Regions from separate parts of the Homo sapiens genome. Here regions 2, 3, 4 and 5 are each linked to region 1. The links are contacts of gene promoters, found by promoter capture Hi-C in blood cells and fetal thymus (Javierre and others, 2016). All regions are on one chromosome and are shown on one strand. Each heading gives the region's core, a stretch centred on a gene start or on the middle of the fragment in contact. The rest is flanking DNA. Distances are from core to core; before and after follow the strand shown.

The links. The method cuts DNA at HindIII sites, captures the fragments that hold promoters and counts their contacts. A CHiCAGO score of 5 or more calls a contact.
Region 2: a contact is called between a fragment that was not itself captured here and the fragment with the promoter of USP1 in region 1, in 5 of 17 cell types (fetal thymus, activated CD4 T cells, non-activated CD4 T cells and 2 more). The highest score is 13.3, in fetal thymus.
Region 3: a fragment that was not itself captured here is called in contact with the fragment with the promoter of USP1 in region 1 in 4 of 17 cell types (non-activated CD4 T cells, total B cells, total CD8 T cells and 1 more); the score reaches 7.9 in non-activated CD4 T cells.
Region 4: the fragment with the promoter of USP24 here is called in contact with the fragment with the promoter of USP1 in region 1 in 1 of 17 cell types (non-activated CD4 T cells); the score reaches 5.6 in non-activated CD4 T cells.
Region 5: a contact is called between the fragment with the promoter of CTH here and the fragment with the promoter of USP1 in region 1, in 3 of 17 cell types (naive CD8 T cells, activated CD4 T cells and total B cells). The highest score is 13.1, in naive CD8 T cells.

Annotation. Positions count from the first base shown.
Region 1 is chr1:62,435,657-62,438,606 of GRCh38, reverse strand. It overlaps USP1 (ubiquitin specific peptidase 1), which reads right to left and starts at 1,558. Exons shown (of 9, transcript NM_003368.5): 1 at 1,207-1,558. RefSeq lists a silencer at 902-961 and enhancers at 1,662-1,731, 1,556-2,323, 2,292-2,641, 2,324-2,950. The HindIII fragment of the contact is 3,360 bases long and covers 1-2,950 here.
Region 2 is chr1:67,681,954-67,684,872 of GRCh38, reverse strand. No RefSeq gene overlaps it. Among named protein-coding and RNA genes, the nearest start is that of GADD45A, 1.8 kb to the left of the region's middle. RefSeq lists a silencer at 1-8 and a cis regulatory region at 1,771-2,263. The HindIII fragment of the contact is 1,492 bases long and covers 582-2,073 here.
Region 3 is chr1:70,351,329-70,354,281 of GRCh38, reverse strand. It overlaps ANKRD13C (ankyrin repeat domain 13C), which reads left to right. Exons shown (of 13, transcript NM_030816.5): 1 at 1-303. Among named protein-coding and RNA genes, the nearest start is that of ANKRD13C, 1.9 kb to the left of the region's middle. RefSeq lists enhancers at 1-694, 1-1,153. The HindIII fragment of the contact is 2,561 bases long and covers 21-2,581 here.
Region 4 is chr1:55,213,860-55,216,638 of GRCh38, reverse strand. USP24 (ubiquitin specific peptidase 24) reads left to right here and starts at 1,275. Exons shown (of 68, transcript NM_015306.3): 1 at 1,275-1,849. The coding sequence starts at 1,526. It overlaps LOC100507634 (a long non-coding RNA gene), which reads right to left and starts at 1,231. Exons shown (of 1, transcript NR_038320.1): 1 at 1-1,231. RefSeq lists silencers at 1,098-1,607, 1,678-1,867 and an enhancer at 2,328-2,387. The HindIII fragment of the contact is 9,819 bases long and covers 1-2,779 here.
Region 5 is chr1:70,409,687-70,412,517 of GRCh38, reverse strand. It overlaps CTH (cystathionine gamma-lyase), which reads right to left and starts at 1,250. Exons shown (of 12, transcript NM_001902.6): 1 at 935-1,250. The coding sequence starts at 1,102. RefSeq lists a silencer at 1,210-1,359 and an enhancer at 1,420-1,679. The HindIII fragment of the contact is 3,560 bases long and covers 1-2,448 here.

The sequences.
Region 1 (2,950 bases), core at 309-2,808:
TTAAAGCCCAAAACTTCAGCAACGAGTTTCAAATTTAAAATGCAGAGTAATAAAATGAACTACACAAGACTCACTCAAATTTCATCCTTAATAAGCATTTCACATGGCTGACACTGATCTAGGAATTCATACTGAACTCAGCACACTGAAACCATTTCTGAGACCCAAATCAGGAAGCACTGGAAAGCTGATCCATCTCTCCATTCTGTCTCCAACTTCACTTACTCTCCTGTCTACCTAATGCTTCTGAGGAAGCGCTGTCTTCTGAATGATAAACCAACCTGCGCTAAGTTCTCAGGGATCGCCAAGCATTAATGATTCTGATAAAAGGTTTTTCTCGAGAGCCAATTTAATGGATGACAGAAACTGGATCTCAAACCGACAGAGTAACCAGACTACACAGAAGGGAAGAATGATTAGGCAGGTGAAATAGCGGATCGTCAGCTTAATCAAAAAACCAAACCTCCTAGCCCCTCAAAGCAAAGCTCACACCGAGAATGTAACATTTTGCCAGGTGCAGTATCTTCCTTGCTATTTCTTGCTCCTGGCTTTCCTTGTAACTGGGGGGCTGTTACATCCAAAATATTTCTCCTGTAACTAAATCAACTTTCGCAGAAAGCACGACGAATCGACCATTATCTGTTGACAGCGTGAACACTCAGTCCCAATAGTTTTAAATTCTTTATAAGATGACACGACTCGATTCCGATTTTTCAACAAAAATCTACAAGGACATCTTCGCCAAGGTTTAAGACACGCGGCGTTCTAAACACTTCTTGAAAAAGTGTAAGTGAAAGAAAATGCGCGGTAAAATTTCGCAATTACCGACACAGGGCAACCTGCGTGGAAACGTTTCTTTCTCCCCATCCTTCACCGCTCTCGGGAACGGAAAGAAAGCTGGAAGGACGAGCAGCGACCAGGCTGCCCGGTCGGGGGAGGCTGGCGGCGGCGTCCTCGGCCCACACCCCCGCGCCGGGCGCCCTCGCCGCGGAGTTGGCCTATTTACGCCCAGCCCGCACCTGCCTTCTCGCGTCCCGGCGGCGGCAAGACAGGCGCCACGCCCGAGGCACACACGGCTCCCCCTGGCAGGTCGACCAGGGTGCGAGGCCAACACGGTCCCGGGGTCTCCCCGGCAGCTCCTCTCCCGCGCCGGCCGAACTTGCCCCCGCGCCCGGGAGCCGGCCCCTCCTCCCAGGCCCTCCTTACCTGGTCATGGCCCAAAGCGAAGTCCGCGGCGGTGACGCCGGCAAGTCCAACCCGAATGAGTGTGGGTGCGACAGGTGAGTCCCTGCCCCGAGCCCGCCGGGTCCCCGGCCCCAGGAAAATCTGGTCGGCTCGCCCTCCCCGCGGGGGAGTGACCATCCGCTCCCAAGAGCGGGAACCCCGACCGCCGCTCGCTCCCGTCTTGCACCAACACCAACTACATCCCGGGAGCGGCGCCCATCTGCGCCCGCCCCGGGAGAGCCAGGAGCGCAACAAGCAGCGGCCCCGCTCGCCGAACGCCTGAACCGCTAGGGTCTTTAGCACTCCGCCACCGAGGGGAACTTGGCGCGTTTTCCTCAGTCTCAGGACCCCCGTGTTTTAGCCTCCGCCCGCGCCAGCGCTGCGATTGAACGTGGCGTCCTTTGAAATTGCCGGTTCCAGTCTCCACGCTGCAGAGACACGAAAGGCAGGAGCCGTCTCGCGACGGCCACTCGCCCCTGGCACGCACGGGCTCCGGAGCCAGCTGGGACTGTAGTTCCCCAAAAGCCTAACGGGTTCCACAGTTTCAAACAACGCAGGCACAGAGCCGGGCAGCTCGTGCGGGTCCTCGCTGAGGGCGCGCGCGAGGTGCTAGCGGCCTGGCTGGCGGGCTCGAGCCTCACACCCTTTTTTTAACCATTCGTGCGCGCGAGTTGAGGGAAAAGCGTACGGGTCGGGAGACGGGACAGAGAGCAGACGGGATGGGCCACCACCTCGAGAAGGAGCCCAAATTCACCAATCCATGATGAACAATCCCCAAAACCGCGCCTCCCACCGCCCGGGGGAAGCCAATCAGAAGTACCTAGACCAAAGCCAATTAGATGGGCGGGAGCAGCAAGCCCATCTAATAGCAAAAAAGAAGAAAGGTGGGCTCCAGCCAATCATTGTTCGACATACGGAGTGTTCCTCAGGCGCGGTGCCCCTCCTTCCGCTCTCATTGGCGCTCGAGTGCGCGCTTTCGCTGCCGACTGTTAAAATCTTGTTTGGCGTTTTGTTAATCCTCGACGGTGGGACGCCGCGGAGGGTGCGGCTTCCGGAGCGAGGCCCTCGCGGTAAGCCCCGCCTCCGTTCGTGCGTACGCGCCCGGGCGGGGTTACCAAGAGAGCAGCTTCGGAAAATGGCTGCCCGGCTGGACGCCGCCGCGCTTGGGCTTTCAGTTCGGAGTCGCGGCCACACTAGGCCTAGGGCCATCCAATGAGACAAGGCGCTGCCACGGATAACAATACATGCTCAGGCGAATGCTGTAGAGCTGAGGCCCGGTCCTCAGCCCCTGCTCGCCTCATTTTCGCCTGTTTACCTCTTCCCTTTCTCGGCCGCAGGAGGAAACGAAAGAACAGTTTCAGGCCCAGCTCCGGCCGCGGGAGCTTCCCAGGGTTCCCGCGCGAGCCCTCCCAAAGGGTTCAGGAGCGGCAGGCAGGCCTCATCTGGTTGTGTGCTTCCTTTTGTGTTTGTGTGCCTGCTTTGGTGAGGTGACCTCAGCTCAAGTGCTGCAGTTAAGCAGGATACGTTCAGCCCAAATCCATTTAATCAAGTATTTTTAAGGTGCCTACTATGTGCCAGGCATTTTTCAAGGCGCGAGGGATGTAAAGGCATTCCCTGTCATAAAGGAGCATTACATTCTGGAGAGGGAGATACAAGTGACGCTAAGATAAGTGATAGATACGATAGCCTGGAAAGACCTCTTTGAGTTGACATTTGAGCAGAGCTG
Region 2 (2,919 bases), core at 78-2,577, 5.2 Mb before region 1:
GTTTTTCTATAATAGTTGCGGCACTTTTTTCTTATTATCTTTTCATGTCTTTTGTTTTAAGGGGTGGCTATTAAAATCTATTTCCAGGGTTAATGCACTGAAGTCTAGTAATTATTAGTAAGCAGGTTACATTAAAAAAGTGTCTCCAGACCTCCGGGGCAAAGTTTACCTCAGAAGTGTTGTTTATCTAAGTCTAGGCGAAGCTGCTTATTAGCAGTAGTATTATTTCGGTGCCCTGATGGCTGGTTTGATTTATTTTTGGAAAGCTGCAAGGGTTGGAAGCTGAAAAAAGAAAAACCAACCCGTTTGTATTCAGGGATGGCAGGGAACCAAGTTAGAATCTTTTCCACAGAAAGCAGAACGGTTTCCCACCTGCCCGGTGTAACTGGGAAATCGTGAGCTGGTCTGCGTGGGGAGCTGGTGACCACATGTGGGAATCCCTGGCAACCCAGATTCTCCTTTCTCAAAGAGCCTTGCCCAAACAAGGATCCTTCTGGACGCCCACCAGCTGAGAGACAACCATCTGACACCCACACAGCCCACAAGTCTAAATTCAAAATGCTCTCGATATGCCCTAAGCTTCCTTTCCTAACGTATGTATGTCGTTACCTTCCACAGAGAGCCTCCTATGATCTCACTGTGAATTATTGATGTTAGATGCTGAATCATGAAGCTGTAACTATAGGAAGTTTTTAGTCATATGCTAAAATTTCACCTTTGAGATAATGGCAACTTGTAGGTGGAAAGCAGACCTTTAAAACTGCAAATGGTAGTTACACATTTTTGAAAAACAAACTTTAATATATAGACTCTCACTGAGTAGTTCAAAAGTCCCTTCCTTTGTTTTATGGTTTATGCAATAAAAGCAAAAACATTTCTTAAACCTACTGAAGTCATCAAAAGTGGTGAAAATGGCTCCCACATGCTTGCATTCAAAACAGTGCTTGCATTATTAAGGTTGCTGTACAGCCAAAGGTCACAGAAGTAATTTCTGCAAAGGTACCTGGAAGTTTTGCACCCTTATGTTTTTATCACTCTAGACAAAATATTCTCCAGCTCTCTTGATCTTAATTTGGTGGAAAAGAAAAGTGATAGGTTTTCTGGTTCATTTATTTGAGTTGTCATTTTGCACTCATTTTTTCACTGTGTTGTCAGCCATGGACAACATTTGAGTAAAGAAATGGTCATGGTCAGTGCATAATTCACCTAAGCATGACTATGTATCTCATATCTATGCCTTAAATCTTAACATTTGATGTCTTTCTTAAAGAATTCCTCAACATTGAAATTTAGGTAGGTTACCGAAGCATTTTCAGTTTTGCAGACAAAACCTGAATTACACAATCTAGCCTGAGTCATCATTTGGCGATTGTTAATATGTTCCGTGGAACTCCAAGGTTCTATCCACTAGGCATTTCTTAGAGGTTCTTGGGAAGAAAATGTGATCACAGCAAGCTGACAAAGAATTAGGGAATCATGTGAGTTTCTTGACAGCAAGGACTTCATCAGTTTGGTGTCCTCAGCTCCTAGTACAATACCTGCATTTAGTAGAAGCACAGTCAAGGTTTATTGAGTTGAATAGAATTTGAGAGTTAAATAAGATATCAGAATCCTGCAGTCCTGTGCATTGCATGAATTCTAACATATTGCACATTTAACGTTAGTTCAAAAACACTTTTGCCTGTCTTCTTCTATACCAAGAACTGTACAATTCCTGGTCCTTTGCCTTTAAAGAGCTTAGGCTCTTATTGGTATGTCCATGCTTGAACTGGATTTTGGGACAAAATAGTATGCACTGTCATCAGCTAGCTATGCTGAAAGTCCCATGACTTCAGTCATCTGAATGGAGGCTGTAGGACAGTAGAACCGGTGTATTGTTTACACCAATTCAAATGAACCACAGTCCTAAAGTGCCCCACCCAAGTCGACTATATCCAGTAAAAATGTGATATCAAATGGTTACTTCTTATTATAGGCTTAGTCCTCCACTCAAAAATTATACTGCATGCTATATTTGACTTCATCAGAAAGTTATTTGCCCAAGTATTTTGGGGATTTTCTCTGAGATAAGCTTGGGCTTCCAGTATGCAAAAATATTCATTTGTCATACTTTCTGACTCAGATACGTTACATCATTTTGCCTGATTGCTGAGTATACCTAGAATGTTTTCTCAGTGATTATCTTCAAAGTTGGGCCTCATGACTGGAAGTAAAAACTGCATTTAGCTACACAGTTAGATTGTAGTTACACATTAGAATGGACATAGTTGATTTATCATTAACTGTTTATTAGTCCTGGAGGACATTGATAGTCAATGGTAAATCAGAGAAATTTTCCTATATCAATATTATATATATATATATATTTCTTTATAATCAGTGTGATAACTCCAATATGTGATGTCATTTTAAAAACCACTACAGGTAACTCTGACAACTGCCAAGTACACAGGAGTAGAATGCTCTTGTAGTAATGTTTGTAAAGATACCAAATGATTATATTTAGAAATCATATGGAAATATATACTCAAGAATTGTTCAATTATTTTAGCACTGCTACTTGCTTTGCATATTAAAGATCTTTTTGATATTTTAGTCATGCTTATCCTACATACATTCCTACTACTGGTTCCATAATGCAGAATTATTCTTTCTTTCTTTCAAAAAACAATCAATGCTTTAACATCTGAAAGAAATATAATGCTTGTTATTTCAGTATTAGATCATTGTCCACATCAAAGGAGAAGATCAGTTCAACTATGATGGATGTATTTTCCACCTACCTAGAATTGTATTGTATTATTTTTTCTTGTTAAAAATCATAAGGTTCCTGGTCAGGTGCAGTAGCTCACGCCTGTAATCCCAGCACTTTGAGAGGCTGAGGAGGTCGGATCACCTGAGGTCAGGAGTTCAAAACCA
Region 3 (2,953 bases), core at 52-2,551, 7.9 Mb before region 1:
TTGGCAAGGGCGGCAAAGCTTGTCATAAGATCTTCAGTAACCATCACCACCGGCTACAGCTGAAGGCAGCTCCGGCCTCCTCCAATCCCCCCGGCGCCCCGGCTCTGCCGCTGCACAATTCCTCCGTGACTGCCAACTCCCAGTCCCCGGCCCTTCTGGCCGGCACCAACCCCGTTGCTGTCGTCGCGGATGGAGGCAGTTGCCCCGCACACTACCCGGTGCACGAGTGCGTCTTCAAGGGGGATGTGAGGAGACTCTCCTCTCTCATCCGCACGCACAATATCGGGCAGAAAGATAATCACGGTGAGGAGTGCTAGCCCCTCTCCACCTCTCTCCTTCCCCGAGCCTAGGGTGTGCCTCCCCAGGCTTCTGGAATCCTAGGCCCCCTCCAGCAGACTCTTCTTTTTGCCCATCATCCGGGCCGTTCGGTAAATCATGATCGACTCAGTAATAGCGTGCCAGTGGTCAAGGGGTTGGTTCTTGTGGGTGCAAAGGAATGTATCCTCCTTGCCCACTTCAAAGTTTGTCGTGAGAAGCTGTTTTGTTTGAGACAGGCCTTCGATTTGCTGATTCTGGACTGTCAGAAATTTTAGGTTGCCTCCCACCCAACATGGTTTTCTCCCTTTGTTTATGGAGCTATATATCTTTATTTCTCTCTCTTCCCCCTACCTTGGCATTTTAAATTTTGAACGCATAAATTGCCCTCCTCCCTTCATTGCTCACATACAGATCCCATCTTGACTGCAACTGGTTGTGATTTTGCCTGCCACCAGGTTGTTTCTTTTTTGTCTGCTTTCAGTAAACTTAGAATGTTAGATTTCTGAAAGCCACACAGTAGAAATTTGTTGGTATTTGATACGTAGAACAGTTAAAGTGACTTCTCAACAGCCGATTTTTGTTTGAGTAGAGATTTGATTTTTTGCTTGTTTTAAGTAGATAATTGCTAATAGTAATGTCTCATCTTGATGACTGTGACTAAAAATAGTATTATGATTTTTATGGTAATTTTATCTTAGTCAATATTGACCATTTCTTTTTGCCTTGTCAGCTGAATTTTTTGTTTAATTCTAAAAAATAATGTGACTGAGTTGACTTTTAAGCAACAGTAAATTTATTATTGAAGACTAATGTGAACACTGACATTTTAACATTTAATAGCCGTTTTAAACTGGGTAGTTGGCAAATATTGTTGATCGCTCTGCTATTAATATGAAAATTGTATACATTCAGTTAGAACACACTGAACCAACTTTGTGCTCAAAATGATATACGTATCAATGAAATATTTGCCTGTGAAATAAGCTCACTTAATTCCATTGGATCGTAGGCTTTTTAGGACAAAAATTCAGATAAAAAAAACGAGTAAGATTTCTCTTGGCTGTATAATTATCTAACAACTGCATTTGTTTTCAGAATTTACAATGTTGTAATTGTAATAAAATCACCACCTATCATTTATCATAAATCCCCAAAAAAGTATGTTAAAGTTGCAGCCAGTTTTTCTTTCCTACATTTAAATTACTTAATCATTTTACTATTATAGTACAAGGATAATGTTGTTTGTTGATGATGGTAATTCTATGCTAGCCCTTTGGAAAACAGTTGTTAGTGGGAGATGGGTTGTAGCTTCAGTTTATTAGTCTATTATGAGGAAGTTTTTCAAATTTGGTTTACATAGTAGCCATAGTTACATTACCTTGAAATATCCCTGAAACAGATAAAAGGTTTGAGAGTTAACTCCCTTTGAAAGAAGAGATGGATGAATATCACTGAAGCTATTGAATTACAGGATTGTTGGGCTTCCATGTCTTCTTCAACCCAACATTTAGGAGTACATTTGTTTAAGTTCAAATTCTGTTCAAAGTAATTAGAATCCTGTATACTCTTAAACTCTTGTCCTTAGCCCACTGAAATTAACTTTTTTTTTTTTTTTTTTTTTTTTGAGACGGAGTCTTGCTCTGTCGCCCAGGCTGGAGTGCAGTGGTGCAATCTCCGCTCACTGCAAGCTCCGCCTCCCGGGTTCACGCCATTCTCCTGCCTCAGCCTCCTGAGTAGCTGGTAGTACAGGCGCCCACCACCGCGCCAGGCTAATTTTTTTGTAATTTTAGTAGAGACGGGGTTTCACTGTGTGAGCCGGGATGGTCTCCATCTCCTGACCTCGTGATCTGCCCGCCTCGGCCTCCCAGAGTGCTGGGATTACAGGCCTGAGCCACCGCGCCTGGCCTTGAAATTCACTTTTTTAAAGGAAGGTTTTTATTGTGTTTAGCTGACCTTATATCATTGATGTTTCTGATTAATGTAACCGGTGGTTCACATACCTGGGGTAAATATAATTGCTTTCCCCCCTGCAATGTGTACATGCTCATCTCCTACAGTGAGGTGTCCTAGGAACTGTGGCTTCAATTTAATGTGCTTCTTATTTAGTCATTTTTTCTCCCATAGCCTCATAGATTTTTCTGATACATTATTACTTTTAGTCTTGACATTTTACTAACCTGGATGCTTTTAGATTTTTAGGATATTTTTGCTTTAAAATTATAGAAGATAAATACTTATAAAATCACTTAAACAACAGCAAGCTTGGCCAGGTGCGGTGGCTCACACCTGTAATCCCAGCAGTTTGAGAGGCCGAGGTGGGTGGATTACCTGAGGTCAGGAGTTCAAGACCAGCCTGACCAACATAGTGAAACCCCGTCTCTACTGAAAATATGAAAATTAGCCTGGCATGGTGGTGCATGCTTGTAATCCCAGCTATTTGGGAAGCTGAGGCAGGAGGATCGCTTGAACCTGGGAGGCTGAGGTTGCAGTGAGCCAAGATCGCACCGTTGCACTCCAGCCTGGGTAACAGAGTGAGACTCCGTCTCAATAAATAAATAAAATAAAATAAATAAATAAATGATGTATATTCTCTTTGGATTGCTTTAACATAAATGCATAGCAGAATAAGACACTC
Region 4 (2,779 bases), core at 26-2,525, 7.2 Mb after region 1:
TAGGCCCAGGACGGCTTTGAATGCGGCTCAGCACAAATTCGTAAACTTCTTAAAACATGATGAGATTTTTTAAAAGTTTCATCAGCTACCATTAGCGTTAGAATATTTTATATGTGGTCCAAGACAATTTTTCTCCTTCCAATGTAGCCCAGGGAAGCCAAAAGATTGGACACCCTTGGCTTAGATGGTGGAGTCAAGGGAACTAAAGATATGACCCCAGTGTGCCAATGCCAAAGGTGAGAAGAGAAAGCAAAGAAAGCAGGCCTTTAAAGAGGTAGAGGAATCCTCAAAGGTGGAAAGAAACAGGGATAGGATGCTGCCCAAGAGGCAGGGACAAAGAATCGGAGCCAAAGACTGCGGTAAAAATGTGGGAAGGTGATGTCCACGATGTTCGAACGAGTCCGTGGCCGAAGGAAGTAAGAGTCTGGGTTTCTGGAGGTTTTCATACAGAGAACTGGGATTTAGATTTCGGGCTGGAAAAATATATTTTGGACTCTCAGGGGCTTTCAGGGTAAGAGTTCGGTAGAGTTCAGTCAGCTTGGCGGAGACAGGTAGTCAGTTAATGTTGGAAGGAAAATTCGGACAGCTGGGAATTAATTTCAACGGGTTTAGGGTGATTTCGGCAAGGGCTGGCGGGGCTAGGGTCGAGTGTGAATTTCGTCTTGGGTGGTCCACGCGTCTGGTTTGGGCAGGAATTTCTGTGGGCAGCGAGGCGTATTCAGGCAGCGTTGCGGGTGAATCTGCGTGGGATGAGGGTGGATTTCCTTCAGGACTGCGGTGCATTTCAGGCCGGGGTGGAGGTGCCTCACAGCCGCGGCGCAGGGAATTCCCTCTAGGATGGGGGAGCGGGTCGGGCGGCGCCGGCCAGGGAGGGGAAGTCCAACGGGGGTTCGGAGAGGCTCGGGGGACTCGGACGGAGAGAAGCCGGGTCGCGGCTGCGGAGGCTCGGCCGGCCAAGGGATTTCCGCGACGTTCAGCGCTGCGAGCTGCGCGGCGCTGCGGCCCCTCCCGTCCCGGGGGAACCTGTTGCCGGCGAAACAGGCGGGCGGTGGCGACGATGGAGAAGCCTTCCTCGCCTCTGCCTGGCTGCACGGCAGCCCTTTCACCTTAGGCACGCTCCGCGGCGCGGCCCCTCCCTCCGCTCCTTCGTTTAAAACAAACAGAATACGCCGCCGCCAACCCTAGCCTGCCAACGGCGAGCACGGTCGCCTCCCGTGCCGCTTCCGGGAGCCGAGGCGCGGCCCCGCCGCCCGGGGAGGAGGAGGCGGAGGGGGAGGAGGCCAACATGGCGGCGCGCAGGGCTGGGCCGGGCCGCAGCCGCGCCTGAGCGCCTCACCGCACTAGCTCGGCTCGCAGGACCCAAGCCCGCACCCAGCCTGGCCCGGCTGCTGCGGAGCACCCGGGGCAGGAACGCAGGGGCCAACCTGGGCGCGGAGGCGGCGCGGAGGGTGCGCCGCGCGGCCCGCCAGGCCCGGGACCCGTAGCTTCGCCGTGCGCTGGCCGGGGCGGCCAGGAGGCCCAAGCCATGGAATCGGAGGAGGAGCAGCACATGACCACGCTGCTGTGCATGGGCTTCTCAGACCCCGCCACCATCCGCAAGGCCCTGCGCCTGGCCAAGAACGACATTAACGAGGCCGTGGCACTGCTCACCAACGAGCGGCCGGGCCTCGACTACGGCGGCTACGAGCCCATGGACAGCGGCGGTGGCCCCAGCCCCGGGCCCGGCGGGGGCCCGCGGGGCGACGGCGGAGGTGACGGCGGCGGCGGCGGCCCCTCCCGCGGCGGGAGCACCGGAGGCGGGGGCGGCTTCGACCCCCCGCCCGCCTACCACGAGGTGGTGGACGCGGAGGTGAGGAGGGGCAACCCCAGACCTCTGTGGGAAGCCACTGGGCTGGAGTTCCTGGGAGGGGACACACCCCGCTGGGCTTGGTGTGGGGAGAGAGGGCATTCGACTGGGGCTTTAGTGGGGGCGGGGCGGAGAGAGAGAGAGAAGCCCCAGGCTCCAGTTGGGAACCGAAGTCACTTGATTGGGGGTAAGTGGGGAGAGGGACCCATAGGAGAGGCGTGTGAAAGGGAATTAGGGATGCGCAGCGGAGCTGTGGGTTGGGGTGAGGAGGGGTCCCTTAGGCTTCCGGCTATGCACGCCGACGATGGGGAGGAGGCTCCAGGGCTATCATCCGAGATGGGAGGACAGACACTTGAGCATATAGTGGGAAGGATGCGTGCAGTAGGGGGTCGGAAATGGGGTACTAGTGCACTAGGCTAGGTCGGAGATTTTGTGGCACGAGGTTTCAGTGAAGGATTGGCGGAGGCACCAGGCTCAGAGTCAGAAAAAGCGGTGTGGGCCGGCCAGAGTAGTGGTCTTTGACAGGATCACAGGAAAACTGTTGGGGTTAGGAGTGAGGTTGGGGTTTTAGCCAAGGGTCGGAAAGGGGGGGCATTGAGTAGGATTTAAAATGAAGAGGGAAGGGGCCGCGGCCAGGAATGAGGACTTGAATAAAATCAGGTATGAGAGCAGTGGGGATTGCACTGAGAGGGCAGAGGTGGGAGGCCTGGGCAGGGGTGGGAGCTGAGGAGGGTCTAGGCAGGGATGGGGACTGGAATTGGAAGATAGAGCTGGCACCAGGTCTGGGTAAAGAGGGAGTACTGGTCATCGATAAGGTCAGAAATGAGAGAAAATTAGACCGGGGAAAGAGATGGTAGTCATACTGAGGGTGCTATGCAGAGGGGCGCGGAACAGGGTGGGAGCGCAGTGGGGGTGGAGGAGGAGTCTTGAGGC
Region 5 (2,831 bases), core at 1-2,500, 8.0 Mb before region 1:
AGCGATTCTCCTGCCTCAGCTTCCCGAGTAGCTGAGATTACCCGCCACCATGCCCAGCTAATTTATTTATTTTTAGTAGAGATGGGGTTTCACCATGTTGGCCAGGCTGGGCTCGAACTCCTGTCCTCAGGTGATCCACCCGCCTCAGCCTCCCAAAGTGCTGGGATTACAGGCGTAAGCCACTGCACCCGGTCATGAGTTGTGTTCTTAATCACTAAGCCACAGTGCTTAAATGACGCAATAGGCTAAATTGTTACTAGCATTATTAGAGATAGCATAGTGTAGCTGAGTGCCTAGGAGTTGGTTCCTAAAGCAACCTCAAGTTTCTAAAGTTTGAATTCCATCTCCAATACTTACTAGTCTAAGGCTAGTTACTTAACTCCCTAAATCTCAGCTTCTTTATTGGGAAAAAATGAGAATTCGGTTCAGACTAGGGTTGTTGTTAGGATTAGATGAGACAATACATGTAATACACATGATATATACGAGCACGTATTTGGCATATAGTAGGTACTCAATAACTATTCATACAGCTACTGGAAACAATCTTAATTCTAGTCAAGTTATCAGACCCTTAATATTTTTTAAGCTGACTCCGTACTACATCTTTAAAATTTATGCTGCTAAAGGTAACTCAAAAAAGTTATGACCTTCGATTTTTAATTGCAAATTTGTCAAAATCACCTGAATTTCAGGCCAAATCTAAATGGCAAGCTGGACAAACGGCTCCTTCCAGTCCTGCTTATCAAAAGAAATACGATCACTGGACCATCCGATACAAAGCTGTGCTGCAAGAATTACAGTGTAGAAACATCTTTCGGTTGCCTTCCTAATTTATAAGTCATATTATAAATTACTTACATGCCTTTCAAATTCATAAGCCGTATCTCTTTTACCGCCCAACTGTGGACAGCCCCAGACAGACCCAGCTCACCGAGTGCTGGCCAGGCGCCCCTTGCTTGAACGTGGTGGACAGTGAGATGGGGGGCACTACAGCCCTGGAGGTCCATTGCTCTGGATCCTGGCCCACATGGATCGCCTGCGTGGCGAAATGTTGGAAGTGTGGCAGGAAACCTTGTGAGGAGGCGTCTTTTTCCTGCATGCTGAACCGCGAAAGAAGAAGAGAGGAAAAGAACACCGAAGATATAACCAGTCGAAGCCGGGTGTCCGGGGTTGGGAGAGACAGAAGGATCAGGCGAGAAGGAGCTAAAGCACGCAGGTAGAGCCGACGGCGAGCGCACTAAAGCGGCACACAGCGATTGTTGGGGTGGATTTTATTAGCGGGTCTGCAGTCTCACGATCACAGTGGGGCGGGACCAGCGCGGCCCATTGAGCGCAGGCCCGACGCGTCTCCCGCTCCTTATTGGCTGACAGCAGAGGCGTTGCCTGAAACGTCACCGCGACCGCCCCACCCAGTGCACAAAGCGGAGTGAAGCTGGAGTCCCTGGGTCCAAGTGGTGTTAGTCCCTGCGGGCGAAATTCCTGAGTACCCGTCCTGAGGAGGCTGCCATGCTGGCTCCTGAGAGCCACCCGGGCGTCTCTGTGACCTCAGGCCGGAGGTTCGCCCGAGACGTGGCGGAAAGCTGGCTTAGTGTTGAAACCGGGTAACTGTAAACAGACCACATAAATAGCCTTCTTTTACTGTGGTAGTTACCTCTGACCACCATCCTTTGCCCTGAGGGCGGTGCTAAAAGACGTAAGCCACAACGTGGAGGGTGGTTAAGAAAACAGTTGCCCAAGCCGCCCAGTTTGCAGCTTGGATTCTCATCAGTCACAGCTTGCGTTTTAGGTACACTGAACTCTGTAATGACCCAGTGCTTACGATGACGAAACGATGACTAGAAGTGAAGGTTAAATTGTTCGTAAGACATAACGAAGCTACTGTAGTGAGGACGTCTATGCACAACTCTGGCAGCTTCCTAAAAGTTAGTCAATCTTGAGCTTTTTCAAGCATCATTATCTTCTTTTAAAGTACAGAGAGAAACTCCCCCTAATGAGAAAGATAATGTGGCTTTGAAATACTTACTGGAGCCTAACATCCTTACACAAAATGCTTTTGCTTTTACACAACAGCAACATCCCTGCAGGAAAAAGGATTGTTTACCACTCACCTGCGCCCAGAGCCCTACTCTCAGAAGAATCACTGCTTTAAAACAAAAATCTCCCTGTTCCCTAAGCAATACAGACTTGACCTACTTACTATTGTGGCTGTTTTCTAGCACCAGGAAATTTGGGGATATTTCTGTTGTTGCAAAATATTCGCTAAAGATCTAAAACTTTATTAAACAAATTAAGAACAAGGAGAATAAGGAATAAACAGCTCTTAAAATTTACAGTTTGAAAGAAAGATATGAAGAGAAAGAATGAGGCAATTTGCTTTTCAAATTAGCTTTAGGGACATTTAACCCATTAAGCACTAGAGGAGTGGTGCTTGAGGGCCTACAAGCTTTTAGAATCCTACCAAACTTTGTATGGCTGGGGGAAAAAATGGATAGACTTCAAAACACTAATGTATATTAATACATATTTAATTAATATTTTTCTTTTAAAAATATAACATCAACTGCAACTCACCTCAATATTTATGTATAACTATAGGTGGGTATTTTTGTGTAATATGATATGGCATTTAGGGGCCAAAAGGGTCTAAAACAGTTCCAATTAGTTTTACCTCCTAATATTTGCTGACAAACCCTGAGTTGCATAAATACAGACATTTTATTTAGTGTACTGTAATAAAGAATCATTCAGAAGACAGCACTAGGCTGGGTGCATTGGCTAACGCCTATTAATCCCAGCACTTTGGGAGGCCGAGGTGGGCGAATCACCTG